Linked DNA regions of Homo sapiens: all the other regions are linked to region 3. The links are contacts of gene promoters, found by promoter capture Hi-C in blood cells and fetal thymus (Javierre and others, 2016). All regions are on one chromosome and are shown on one strand. Each heading gives the region's core, a stretch centred on a gene start or on the middle of the fragment in contact. The rest is flanking DNA. Distances are from core to core; before and after follow the strand shown. Region 1 holds the start of MSTO1 (misato mitochondrial distribution and morphology regulator 1). Region 2 has its middle 35 kb from the start of YY1AP1. Region 3 holds the start of MTX1 (metaxin 1). Region 4 holds the start of YY1AP1 (YY1 associated protein 1).

The links. The method cuts DNA at HindIII sites, captures the fragments that hold promoters and counts their contacts. A CHiCAGO score of 5 or more calls a contact.
Region 1: a fragment that was not itself captured here is called in contact with the fragment with the promoter of MTX1 in region 3 in 2 of 17 cell types (endothelial precursors and fetal thymus); the score reaches 10.4 in endothelial precursors.
Region 2: a fragment that was not itself captured here is called in contact with the fragment with the promoter of MTX1 in region 3 in 1 of 17 cell types (endothelial precursors); the score reaches 5.9 in endothelial precursors.
Region 4: a contact is called between the fragment with the promoter of YY1AP1 here and the fragment with the promoter of MTX1 in region 3, in 1 of 17 cell types (endothelial precursors). The highest score is 7.1, in endothelial precursors.

The regions. Positions count from the first base shown.
Region 1 is chr1:155,608,143-155,611,082 of GRCh38, forward strand. MSTO1 (misato mitochondrial distribution and morphology regulator 1) reads left to right here and starts at 2,076. Exons shown (of 14, transcript NM_018116.4): 1 at 2,076-2,190; 2 at 2,283-2,418; 3 at 2,897-2,940. The coding sequence starts at 2,107. LOC105371452 (a long non-coding RNA gene) reads right to left here. Exons shown (of 2, transcript XR_922171.2): 2 at 1,467-1,750. RefSeq lists enhancers at 1,063-1,937, 1,938-2,812. The HindIII fragment of the contact is 2,982 bases long and covers 1-2,771 here.
Region 2 is chr1:155,652,721-155,655,682 of GRCh38, forward strand. No RefSeq gene overlaps it. Among named protein-coding and RNA genes, the nearest start is that of YY1AP1, 35 kb to the right of the region's middle. The HindIII fragment of the contact is 1,720 bases long and covers 426-2,145 here.
Region 3 is chr1:155,206,975-155,210,057 of GRCh38, forward strand. It overlaps MTX1 (metaxin 1), which reads left to right and starts at 1,721. Exons shown (of 8, transcript NM_002455.5): 1 at 1,721-2,358. The coding sequence starts at 1,831. It overlaps THBS3 (thrombospondin 3), which reads right to left and starts at 923. Exons shown (of 23, transcript NM_007112.5): 1 at 824-923. The coding sequence starts at 902. RefSeq lists an enhancer at 1-707 and a silencer at 2,071-2,270. The HindIII fragment of the contact is 1,632 bases long and covers 1,458-3,083 here.
Region 4 is chr1:155,687,507-155,690,270 of GRCh38, forward strand. It overlaps YY1AP1 (YY1 associated protein 1), which reads right to left and starts at 1,268. Exons shown (of 11, transcript NM_139119.3): 1 at 1,153-1,268; 2 at 565-695. DAP3 (death associated protein 3) reads left to right here and starts at 1,585. Exons shown (of 13, transcript NM_004632.4): 1 at 1,585-1,668. It also overlaps the pseudogene LOC124904430. RefSeq lists enhancers at 674-1,308, 1,684-1,733 and a silencer at 1,144-1,193. The HindIII fragment of the contact is 12,603 bases long and covers 1-2,764 here.

The sequences.
Region 1 (2,940 bases), core at 31-2,530, 400 kb after region 3:
CACCTAGATTCAATTAACATTTTGTCACTTTTTAAAATTTTGAGACAGGGTCTCCCTCTGTCTCTGGCTGCAGTGCAGTGCTCCAATCATGGTTCACCGCAGCCTCTAATTCCTGCGCTGAAGCGATCCTCTCACCCTAGCCTCTGGTTAGGACTACAGATGTGGGCTGCCTAGCTAATTTTTTGAAAAATTCTTTTATAGAGAGGATAGGGGGAGGGGGAGTCTCACTACATTGTCCAGTCTACCCTCACATTCTCGAATTTCTGGACTCAAGCGATCTTCCTGCCTCAGCCTCACCAAAACGTGGGAATACAGGCGTGAGCCTCTGCGCCCAACCAATATTTGCCTTATCTCTTTTTTTTTTTTTTTTTTTTTGAGATGGAGTCTGGCTCTGTTGCCCAAGGTGGAGTGCAGTGGCGCGATCTCGGCTCACCGCAAGCTCCGCCTCCCGGGTTCACGCCATTGTCCTGCCTCCGCCTCCCAAGTAGCTGGGACTACAGGTCGCGCCCGTCACCACGCCCGGCTAATTGTTAGTATTTTTAGTAGAGACGGGGTTTCACCGTGTTAGCCAGGATGGTCTCGATCTCCTGACCTCGTGATCCACCCGCCTCGGCCTCCCAAAGTGCTGGGATTACAGGCTTGAACCGCGGCGCCCGGCCTTTTTTATTTTTATTTTTATTTTTTTATTTTTTATTTTTTAGAGAGGAGTTTTGCTCTTGTTTCCCAGGCTGGAGTGCAGTGGCGTGATATCGGCTCACTGCAACTTCCACCTCCCAGGTTCAAATGATTCCCTGACTCAGCCTCCTGAGCAGCTGGGAGTACAAGGGCCCGCCACCACGCCCGGCTACATGTTTTGTATTTTTAGTAGAGACCGGGGTTTCATCATGTTAGCCAGGCTGGTCTCAACCTCCTGACCTCAGTTGATCCTCCTGCCTCGGCCTCCCAAAGTGTTGGGATTACAGGCGTAAACTACCGCACCCGGCCCTTGCCTTGTTTCTAAATACACACAAGAATGTTAATCATAGCACCTAATAGCCCAAAAATTGGAAACAATCCCAAAAGCTATTATCAGCAGTATATATATATATATATATATATATATTTTTTTTTTTTTTTTTTTTGAGACAGAGTCTCGCTCTGTCGCCCAGGATGGAGTGCATTGGCGTGATCTCGGCTCACTGCAAGCTCCGCCTCCCGGGTTCACGCCATTCGCCTGCCTCAGCCTCCCGAGTAGCTGGGACTACAGGCGCCCGCCACCACGCCCAGCTAATTTTTTTTTGTATTTTTAGTAGAGATGGGGTTTCACCGTGTTAGCCAGGATGGTCTCGATCTCTTGACCTCGTGATCTGCCCGCCTCAGCCTCCCAAAGTGCTGGGATTACAGGCGTGAACCACCGCGCCCAGCCTATTCTTTCTTTAGAATAGATCAGTGGTGGCGTATTCATACAATGGACTATTCCGCAGTGATGAAAATGAATTATAGATATTTGCAAAAATATGAATTACATAAACCATATTGAGCAAAAGACGCCAACAGATACATACTCTCTTTACATAAGGTGTTAGATACACAGAGATAGATAAATACGTGTAAATGATAGAGATATGATAGCTAAGCCAGTCCACAGGTTATTAGTCGTGGTCCACGTGACTTCTGAAGAGATGAAGGGGCATGGGAGGCTTTAGGGGAGCTTCCGCTTTTCTGGCAAGGTTTTCTTTTTGCCCGGGGAGCTATCAGCCAGCGGAGAGATCTGTGAGAAGGGATAAGACCTCAAGACAAGTAGGAAGCAGAGCCTTCCACGGCCCGCGCCCTGGCGGCCCCAAGTCAGCGGCGGAGACGGCGCCCACCCCGCTCCAACGTGGAGCAGGAGCAACGGCGTGGCCCGTGGAGCCCCGCCCCTCACAGGCAACCACAGAGAAGCCGGACTGGGCCACGTCTAGGAAGAGGTAGGAAGGGATCGGCGCATCGTTTCTCCAATGGGAAAGGATGTGTTTGCGGGCCAATAAGTAGCCGAGAATAACACCCGCCCACGCGCCTGCCAAGCCAATCGGCTAGGAGCAGCGAGCGGCGCGGCTGAGGCGCGGCGGCCCCGTGGAGCAGCGCAGTATGGCGGGCGGGGCCCGGGAGGTGCTCACACTGCAGTTGGGACATTTTGCCGGTTTCGTGGGCGCGCACTGGTGGAACCAGCAGGTGAGGTCAGCCGGCAGCTGCCCCCGAGGAGCCCTTCGGGATCTACAGTCCCGACGTTCAGCCGGCCTGCCTCGTCCTCTCTGCTTCCCCAGGATGCTGCGCTGGGCCGAGCGACCGATTCCAAGGAGCCCCCGGGAGAGCTGTGCCCCGACGTCCTGTATCGTACGGGCCGGACGCTGCACGGCCAGGAGACCTACACGCCGCGACTCATCCTCATGGATCTGAAGGGTGAGGTGGTGGCAGAGTTAGCCGATGCCCCTTATTTCCCTTCCGCGTGCCTAGTCCTTGCGCTGCCGTTATCTTCAAGACCCTCCCACCTTACCGAGCTCCAGGACCGGAGATGAGGAGCTGAGCACAACATGCCAACACTCGAGGGGCCCACGACAGTTGCTCAAGAGCCATTTCGGGAATAGGCTGCTAGGCCCTGGAGACAGTGAGGACTTGAACTGCAGCACTCCTGTCAGACCCCTGGATGTGGTTCCCCCCGCGTCCCACAGCTAATGACTAAGCTGGGAACCGAAAGATGGAATCTAGATTCTCCTAAGCCAAGGTTTTTCCCCCAACTAGTGTATATCCCAGAAAGCTTGGAAGAGCCAAGTGCTGGAGAGATGGTGACAGCAGGTTGTCAGGTGATCAGAGGAAGGTTAGCTAGAGGGGAAGGGTGCCCAGGCTTTGACCTAACATTGTCTCTGTTATTTCTGTACAGGTAGTTTGAGCTCCCTAAAAGAGGAAGGTGGACTCTACAGGGAC
Region 2 (2,962 bases), core at 36-2,535, 450 kb after region 3:
TACCCAGAATCCATTAATTGCCAGAGAAGTAAAATAAAACCCTGCTGTAAAATTAAGCTGATTCCCAGTATGCCTGGTCCCAGTATACACAGGCCAGGGCTAACCATTATGGGACTAAAAATACTTATCTGTTATTTTGTTCTTTTGAATGGGAACTTCAGGGGGTGTATACCTATCCTCTCAGGAATAATGTTACAAAAATGAAGTAAAACATTTTGCTTAATTATTACAAAGGAAATGATTCCATCCATTTGGAAGAAGGCAATAAATTATAAAAATATAAAAACTGCTACTATTATCAAACCTACAGTAACTATGCAGCATAGACACCAAGGAGAGTTGGTAGGCATTCACTTATCTTTTGACTGTCTTTAAAACAGGTACTTCAGGTCTTCCACAGGTTCACAGGTATAGTGGCTGACGGAAGCTTCAAGTTACAGGTCTGGGGCTTCAGGTATTGCAGGCTTGACCCTAGAAAGACGTATCCAACTTCTAATCCTGGTACTTTGACTACAGAAGGCGTGGCCAACACCACTGAAAAAGTCCCTTCCATTTGGGTTGGAGTTGTTGAGCAGGTGACCCCTCTTTCTGTGTTTTAACAAATACTTTTCTCTCCTGGCCTGATCTTGGGTTGCTGGTTAGTTCCCAATGCAGAGAACCTTTGAGTTCCAAACTTTTGAAATGCCTGCTGAAATTGTCTCCGGTTAATTACGTATTTTACTAAACTGGCTATTTCTGGATCAGTAATTAGATCATCCATTAAAAATGGCCTTCCCAGCCAGGTGCAGTGGCTCATTCTTATAATCCCAGCACTTTGGGAGGCCAAGGTGGGTGGATCACTTGAGGTCATGAGTTCAAGACCAGCCTGGCCAACATAGTGAAACCCCATCTATACTAAAAATACAAAAATTAGCGGGGTGTGGTGGCTCACACCTGTAATGCCAGCTACTTGGGAGGCTGAGGCAGGAGAATTACTTGAACCTGGGAGGTGGAGGTTGCAGTAAGCCAAGACTGTGCCACTGCACTCCAGTCTGGACAACAGAGTGAGACTCTGTCTCAAAAAAAAAAAAAAAGACTTCTGTATAACATTTTAAATGGGCTCATATTAATTTTTGCTCTAGGGGAATTATGGATCCTTAAAAGGACTATGGGCAGCAAGCTGACCCAAGTTTCTGAAGTTTCCTGACATAGCTTAGCTAATGCCGATTTTAGAGGTTGATTAGCCCTTTCTACTTTCCCAGAGGATTGAGGTCTCCATGCTGAATGTAAATAGTATTAGATTCTGAGAGCCTTAGCAACCCTTTTAGTTATTTGGGAGACGAAAGACATACTGCTCTCACCTTGGAGGCTTTGGGGTAACCCAAACTGGGGATTATTTATCTTAGGAGAACTTTTATAACTTCATTAGCCTTCTTTGTTCTGCTAGGGTAAGCCAGTAAATGTGTCTATTAGTACTAGCAAAAACTTGTATCCCCTACAAGCTGGCATATGGGTAAAATCCAATTGCCAGTCTTCCCCTGGGGAAGTGCCCCTTCTCCGGACTGGTTCTATTAGAGGAGGCATTTTGTTCCTGGGGTTGTTGAATGCTCACAGTGAACAGGTTTGACAGACCTGCTTAACCACGGAAGTTAAGTCAGGCCCAATGAAGAGCCTGTTTATCATGGCAAGAGTGGCATCTCCTCACATATGGAAAGAGTCATGCAGGATTTTTATAATTCTCCATTGGGCTGTTTGAGGGAGATACACTTTTGATACTATATACCACCAGGATCCTTGTTTGTGTCCATCTTCCTCCTTTACTTCGAATATCCCTGAATACATCACAGGGATATTCAGGTTCTATTGGGGAATCATAGAAAGGAAGCAGTGCTAGAATTTGTCGGGATTACACCCTGAGCAGTGCGGCTTTGGCTTATCAGCCTTTCTGTGCCCTTGTGTTACAGGGGTTAGGTTCTTTTGATGCCCCCTACAATGAATTATGGCTATGCTTTTGGCAAGTGTATTGCTTCCAACAGTTGAAGAATTTCAGACCCATGCTTTATGGTGGAAGATTTACTAGTTAGTAGTCCTCTTTCTCTTTCTTTTCAAATTGCAGCATGAGCATGAAACACGAGAAATGCATGTTTGGAATCTGTATAGATGTTAAGCTTTTTCCCTTTTCCTAATGTCAGAACTCGAGTAAGAGCAATGATCTCAGCTTTTTGTGCTGACATACCTGGGGGCAGGGGTTGGACCTCAATAATTGTATTGTAATTTACTGTTGTATATCTGGCCCAGTGTTCCCGTTTGATATAAAGCTGCTGAGGTCTGTGAACCAGTCATCCTCTGAATCTGGGAGAGGTCAACCTTTTAAATCAGGCTGGCTAACATATGTATGTGCAATAACTTGCTCGCAGGAATGATTAATTATTGGGCCTGTGGGCAGCAATCAAGCTGGATTCACAGTGTTACAGGTTTTAAGGGTCACATCTAGATTTTCCAGGAGCATAGCCTGGTATTTGGTTAACCTTTCCCCCATCATACAGTTGTGTCCTTTTATTTCTAGGATTGACTTGATGTGGGGTTAATACTTCCAGTGGCTGACCCAGGGTGATTTTAGCGGCTTCTTCCACTAAAATAGCAGTGTCTGCCATCGACGGCAAGCAGCTTGGCCACCGTGTCCAATTTCTTTGAGAAGTAGGCAGTTGGCACTCCCATGGCTATGCCTTTCCCTTCTGCTACATACAAGGGCTTAGTGAGGTCTAGGATGCTAAGAGCGGGAGGCTGGCTGAGAGCCTGTTTTAACTTGATAAAGCCTTCTCTCATTTCCAAAGTCCATTCAATTGGCTCATTTTCTGGCTCCCTTGTTGCTTTCATAAAGGGGTTTTGCTATGAGCCCAAAATTTGGTACCCATCTTCTGCAAAACCCAGCCATCCCCAGAAAACGACGAAGCTGTTGCTTGGTGTGGGAGGAGCTCCAAAC
Region 3 (3,083 bases), core at 471-2,970:
AAACACAGAAACAGCACCCCACAAATTTGAGATGCCCCCACCAGGTGGCGCAAAGGAGATGCTGTGCTGATCCCCCACAGGAGTGGCACCTGGTGTCCACAACGTAGAAATGGAAGGCAGCTTCTCTTTCCACTCCTGGGTTTGGCTCGTTCCACACCCTAGTTCCCCTCCTCCCATCCTAGGGGCGCAGCACACTCGCTCTGGATAAGAACAGCTGCCCACTGAGGACTCTAACCCTCCCACCATCTGGGCTATCTCCCACGGGAATGTAGGACCCAGCTCCTCTGCCTCCTGTGTCCTGGCCAATCTGTGGTTTTCCCTCCAGCCAGTAAAGAATCTATGCCTGTGTCATCTGCTCCAGCTACCTCTCCCACATCCATCGGCCCATCCCACCACCAGACCTCCGGGAGAGCCCAGGCTTCTTGGTCCCCACCCCCGCCCTGTCCTTGGGCAGCCAGGAGCCCAGGGGGACGAAGCCCAGGGACCTACAGTACGCCCACCTTCAGGCTGCTCTCCCAGACCCTAGGGTGCCTACAGATGCTCAGGAACCACCCCAGCCAGGCAGCCTGAGCATCCAGTTCCTGAGTCCTCTGCCCTGGCCTCATGCCTGACCCTGTCCTGTTCCAGCTCCCCCACTACTCTCCGGTGCCCACTCCTCTCCACCAGGCCATAATTTCACCAACTCTAGGCAGTCTTAAGTTTTCCTCTGGCTCAATTTCTGGACTCTTCCCCTCTCCCCTTGCCCACATGTTCTCTGCTACTTGGGCTGAGGGCAAATGGGGAAGAAGCAGAGAGCGGTCTAAGAGGATGGAGACAGGCTTACCCTGCAGATCCTGACTGGCAGATGTGAAAAAGCAAAGGAGGAGAAGAGCCAGGGCCCCCCGAAGTTCCTGCGTCTCCATGCCTCTCAGCCGGCTCACTACCCCTGGCAGGCAGGCAGCTGGGAGGGGAAAAGGCTAGGCGGAGAGAGCAGGAGCCGGGGGGCGGAGGGACAGAATTGGAGGGGGGGCCAGCAGGCGGGTGAGGGGGGGCTGAAACAAAGAGCTGCCAATCACCCTGGAGGCATCATCAGCTCTGGGAACCAGGGGCACTGGGAAAGAATCCTGGAGGCCTCCCTGCTTTCTACCTCTCCCTAATGATCCTCCCCCAGGTGCCTCCCTCTCCGCAGTCATCATTGTTGGGGGTCTCGGCACACAGCGCTACCGAATGCCACTGTTTTCTGGAAGCCACGATTGTGGAAGGCAAGAACCCCTGGCAGGGGCAGTGCTAGACAGTGGGCATTATTCCACAGCTGGCAGGAAAGGATGCCAAGGGAGTGGCCGCAACTAGCTTGCTATAGTGCCCAGGGATGCCCACATGGCATGAATTTTGCTGTTCTGGCGGAGCAAGTGCTCTTTATTAGGGTGGGGGGTCCCCTGACAAGTGCCTGTTTCTCCATTTTCCCTCATTCGTAGGAAAGCTTGGGAGTCTGGAAGCGTCTGACGGGAACTGAAGGGAGAATCTAAAGCAGTGGTCAGTGAGGTCAGAGTGAAGAAACCAAAAAAGAGGAAAGGGACACCAGGGACAGGCGCAGAAGACCAGGGGTACAGGCGAGGAGCCAAGGACCAGACTGTGGAACACTGTGGGTACTAGCGGACGGGCCGTGACCCGGATGAAGCAGAGGGGCGCCTGAGTTCCCGTCACCTAAGCGACAGCCTGCGAGCCTCTCTTCCCCTCCCCCACCCAAGCCCCAGCCCGGCCTCCGCTCCGGCCGCCGCCACCGCCCCTGTTTTGTTTCCATGGCGACAGGCGGCGCAGGGCCCGCTCCAAACATAACGCGCTGTGGAAAACATGCTGCTCGGGGGACCCCCCCGCAGTCCCCGCTCGGGGACGAGCCCCAAGGGGCCCTGGAGCAGTACAGGCCACGTGCAGTTTGGCAAGAGCCCCCAGACCTGGCCCAGGCGCACAAGACCCCGCTCTCCAGAGCCTGCCGCGCCTTCAGGGGTTCGGGGCTCCACTTGGACGAGGCGCCGTGACTCTCCGAGGCGCGCCGGGCCGACAGCGCTGTCCCGCTACGTGGGCCACCTCTGGATGGGCCGGCGGCCGCCCTCCCCCGAGGCCCGCGGCCCAGTCCCCCGCAGTTCAGCTGCCAGTCGGGCCAGAAGAAGCCTCGCCTCCCCGGGGATCTCCCCAGGCCCCCTGACCGCAACGATCGGAGGGGCGGTGGCGGGGGGCGGGCCCAGGCAGGGGAGGGCAGAAGCACACAAGGAAGTGTTTCCGGGACAGAGGGTGGGCAAGATGGCGGCGCCCATGGAGCTGTTCTGCTGGTCAGGGGGCTGGGGGCTGCCGTCAGTGGACCTGGACAGCCTGGCCGTGCTGGTGAGGGGTGGCGCCGGCGCCCTCTGCTGTGCCCTGATGACTGGGGAGGGGGCCGAACTAGCCAAGCATCCAAACCTTGCCAGGGCTACTCAGCACGGGCGCAGTGGGGGAAACTGAGGCAGTCAAAGAGCGTACGTGGCCGATATGGCCTCAGTGCCCTATGCTGTAGTTTTCTAGGCTTAATGCAGCAATGAAAAGACGCCTGGTTGGGAGTTCAGGTGATGGGTTCTAGTCCTTGCTCATCCATTCACTGGCTGTGTGACCTTGCGGAGATCCTTTCTCTTTGGGCATTTTTTTTCTCCATTCGGAGGTTTACTAGGCTGGACTGTCTCAGGGACCTACTCTAGCTTGGAATTCCTGCCTTCTCCTCAGCCCCCTTCTCCTCTTCCTCCTCACTTAACAGCATTTACTGAGGCTATTGTTTGTTAGACCAAACGACTCACAGCCAGGCTTTGTATAAAGAGCTTAGCAATCAGACTTCCTTTGCTTCATTTATTCATTGACTCCTTGCTTTAAAGAGGATCTATTAGATTTCTTCCAAATATTAAACATTGCCAGGCAAAGATGAATAAAATTTGGTTCCTCCCTTCGAGTTTACAGAAAGGCAGATAGGTAAGCAAATAAATATAATAAAATATTCACATATAAGTTAAAGTAGGAACAGACCACAGATACTGCCAAAGAGAAGGGCATTATCAGTGCTTCCAAGAAGAGGGATACTGGTT
Region 4 (2,764 bases), core at 18-2,517, 480 kb after region 3:
CATCCTCACATACACACACCAACACAGCCGCTACACACCAACAGACCATCTGTCTGCTAGACCAAAAACATCTCTTTCCATGTACAAACTAACCAGTGACATTTATTAAACGTACAACACTGAGATCATCCTGTCGTTCCCACATACCGTTCAACGCGGCAGGGACACCACAGACCTTGTCACACAGGTAAAATCCCCTCTCAAGATCGTGTCCTCGACCACTCTTATCCCTTAATTAAACACACACAAACTGGACTATGGGGGAGGCTCCGATCATGCCTACAAACACAAACTAACCTGTCAGGGGCACAGCCGACTCCGCCTCCACTCGCTTACTTCCCAGCCCCCTCCGGGAGTCTGCCTGTCAGGGACACCCCTTCACCCCGCCTGGAGGGACTTCCCGGTAGGCTCAGGATCCCCCTCCCTGCTCTCCCCTCCCCCATCTTCACCACTGCTCTCCCAGAGGTCCAGGTCCGGGAGATGACAGTGGCTCCCAGAAAGCCCAGGATTCAATCGCTGAGAGAGTGCTTAGGCCCGAATGCCGGCCCAAATCGTTCTACTCACCGTGTCGGAGGCCGAGAGCGATGAGAGTACAGGGAAGTGAGGAAGAGGGGGTGGCCGCCAGGCTCCTCCGCTTCCCTGGGTCCACCGCGGATCCCTCCCGCTTGTCAGGAGGCGGCCAGCGGGTAAGCCGACTGGCGGAAATGCGAGAGAGGAGAAGGGAAAGGTGGAGGGCTAAAGGGGCAAACTGAGAGGAGGCGGATCCCGCAACCGACACTGGGATCGTTTCCCCTCGCAAAGCGAACCCAAAATGGCGGCGGCAGCGGCGGCAGCAGAGTGGCCGCGGCAGCTCCTCCAGAGGGAGGGAGCTAAGGGCGCCTAGCGACACCCCCAACCTCCCACTCCTCCCTCCTCGCGTTCTTCCCCACGGTCCCCCGCTTCGCCCGACTCCGGCCATGTAGCGCGCACGTCAGCCCGCACGCGTACGAGTGTCTACGGGCTCGTCGCTGGCTGCTCCCACCAACCACCACCTTCGGCCGTCCTGCGAGCCAGCCATCCCGTACGCGCTCACCCACGGGAACCTCCTCGCCCAGTTCTCCACTCCCCCTCAGACCCTGTCAAGCCGGCTCCAGCGCAGGCCCTCACGCGTACCTTCAGCGGCGCGAGCCCAAGCCTTCTCCACCTCCTCTTCTCTCCTCCCCCTCCCTCCCCGCCCGCACGGCCACCAACCGCCGCCAAAGCAGCCGCCGCCAGCACCCCCACCCTACACTCCTCGCGCGTGCGCCTCCCACAGTCCCCACCGCGGGACTGTTCCATTCCTGGCGGCTGCAGGGGCAGGAGAGGAAGGGACCGGCAAAGCGAGTCTGGCTTGCCGTTTGACTGGAATTGCCAGGGTGGCCGGCCGAGTCCCATGACAACCTACCTCCCTGGGTTCGTCGCCGCGGCGCTGCGGCTCGCCTCCTCCTCCATGGGACCGCGGCGAGGGGATCGAGGGCGGCCTAGCGCCCCTCTGCCGGCCGGTGGTTGGAGGCCGCGGCGGCTGCGCGTTGAGTCGTTTCCTGCCGGATGACCCGACCCTTTTTTGCAGTCTCAGGACGGGCGCTTTGGAGCCGGCCCCAGGCAGCGTGTGTCGGTCGCCTAGTCTGGAGAACTAGTCCTCGACTCACGGTGAGGGAATGGACCGACACGGGTATTGTACCGCTGAGGGAAAGGAGCGGGACTCCGGACCTCCAGGAGGTAGGGAGTGAGGCCGGTAGACCGGCGCGCCTCCGGGGGGGATTCCTCCCGGGCGTTGAGTTGCCAACCTGGGACCCGAGGAAGTTCGGCGTGGTGGTGTGCTTTTTGTTGTTGTTAACCCTCCTCGGATTTCTCGAATTTCACACCACTGTCCATATGCGATGATGTTTGTTTGCCCTTGACGCACTTACTCATGGATGGTACTTCAGCCTCGTTAGACAGCCTGGTGATGGAGGATGAAGAAACCATGTGCTTCTCATTCAGTTCTGGACTCAGTTTCCCTTGTCTTCAGCAAGTTATTTTTGTTAGTTCCTTATCAAAAAGTGTACATAAAAATTAGGCAACTCCAAACATGCCTCCAGGGTTGGTGTGTGAAATAATAAGATAGGGCTGGGCGCGGTGGCTCACGCCTGTAATCCCAGCACTTTGGGAGGCCGAGGCAGGTGGATGACAAGGTGAAGAGATCGAGACAATCCTGGCCAACATGGTGAAACCCCGTCTCTACTAAAAATACAAATATTAGCCGGCCGTGGTGGCGGGCGCCTGTAGCCCCAGCTACTCGGGAGGCTGAGGCAGGAGAATTGCTTGAACCCGGGCGGCGGAAGTTGCAGTGAGCCGAGATCGCGCCACTGCACTCCAGCCTGGCGACAAAGCGAGACTCCGTCACACACACACACACACACACGAAATAATAATATATGTAAAGTGGAATTAGCTCCTAGGCATAGGGAAGGTGCAGAGTATTGCCGTGTTGTCATTTACAGTTCTGTTGATGTCGATAACGTTTGTGGGTGTAATGGGTAGTGTTCTGTCCCTCCAAGTCGTTAATAAAACAAAGCAGGCCGGGCGTCTTGTTAAATAGTTGTATCAATGACTTGATTTAGATTAATGAGGATATATTTTTCAAATTTATGCCTTTTACAAAATTTTTAAAGAGTAGGTAATGTCGGTGATAGATATAAAGAAAGGAAAAGATCTCCAGATGTGGAATCTTCTACTGGATCCTGTAACAGAAAGAAGACATTAG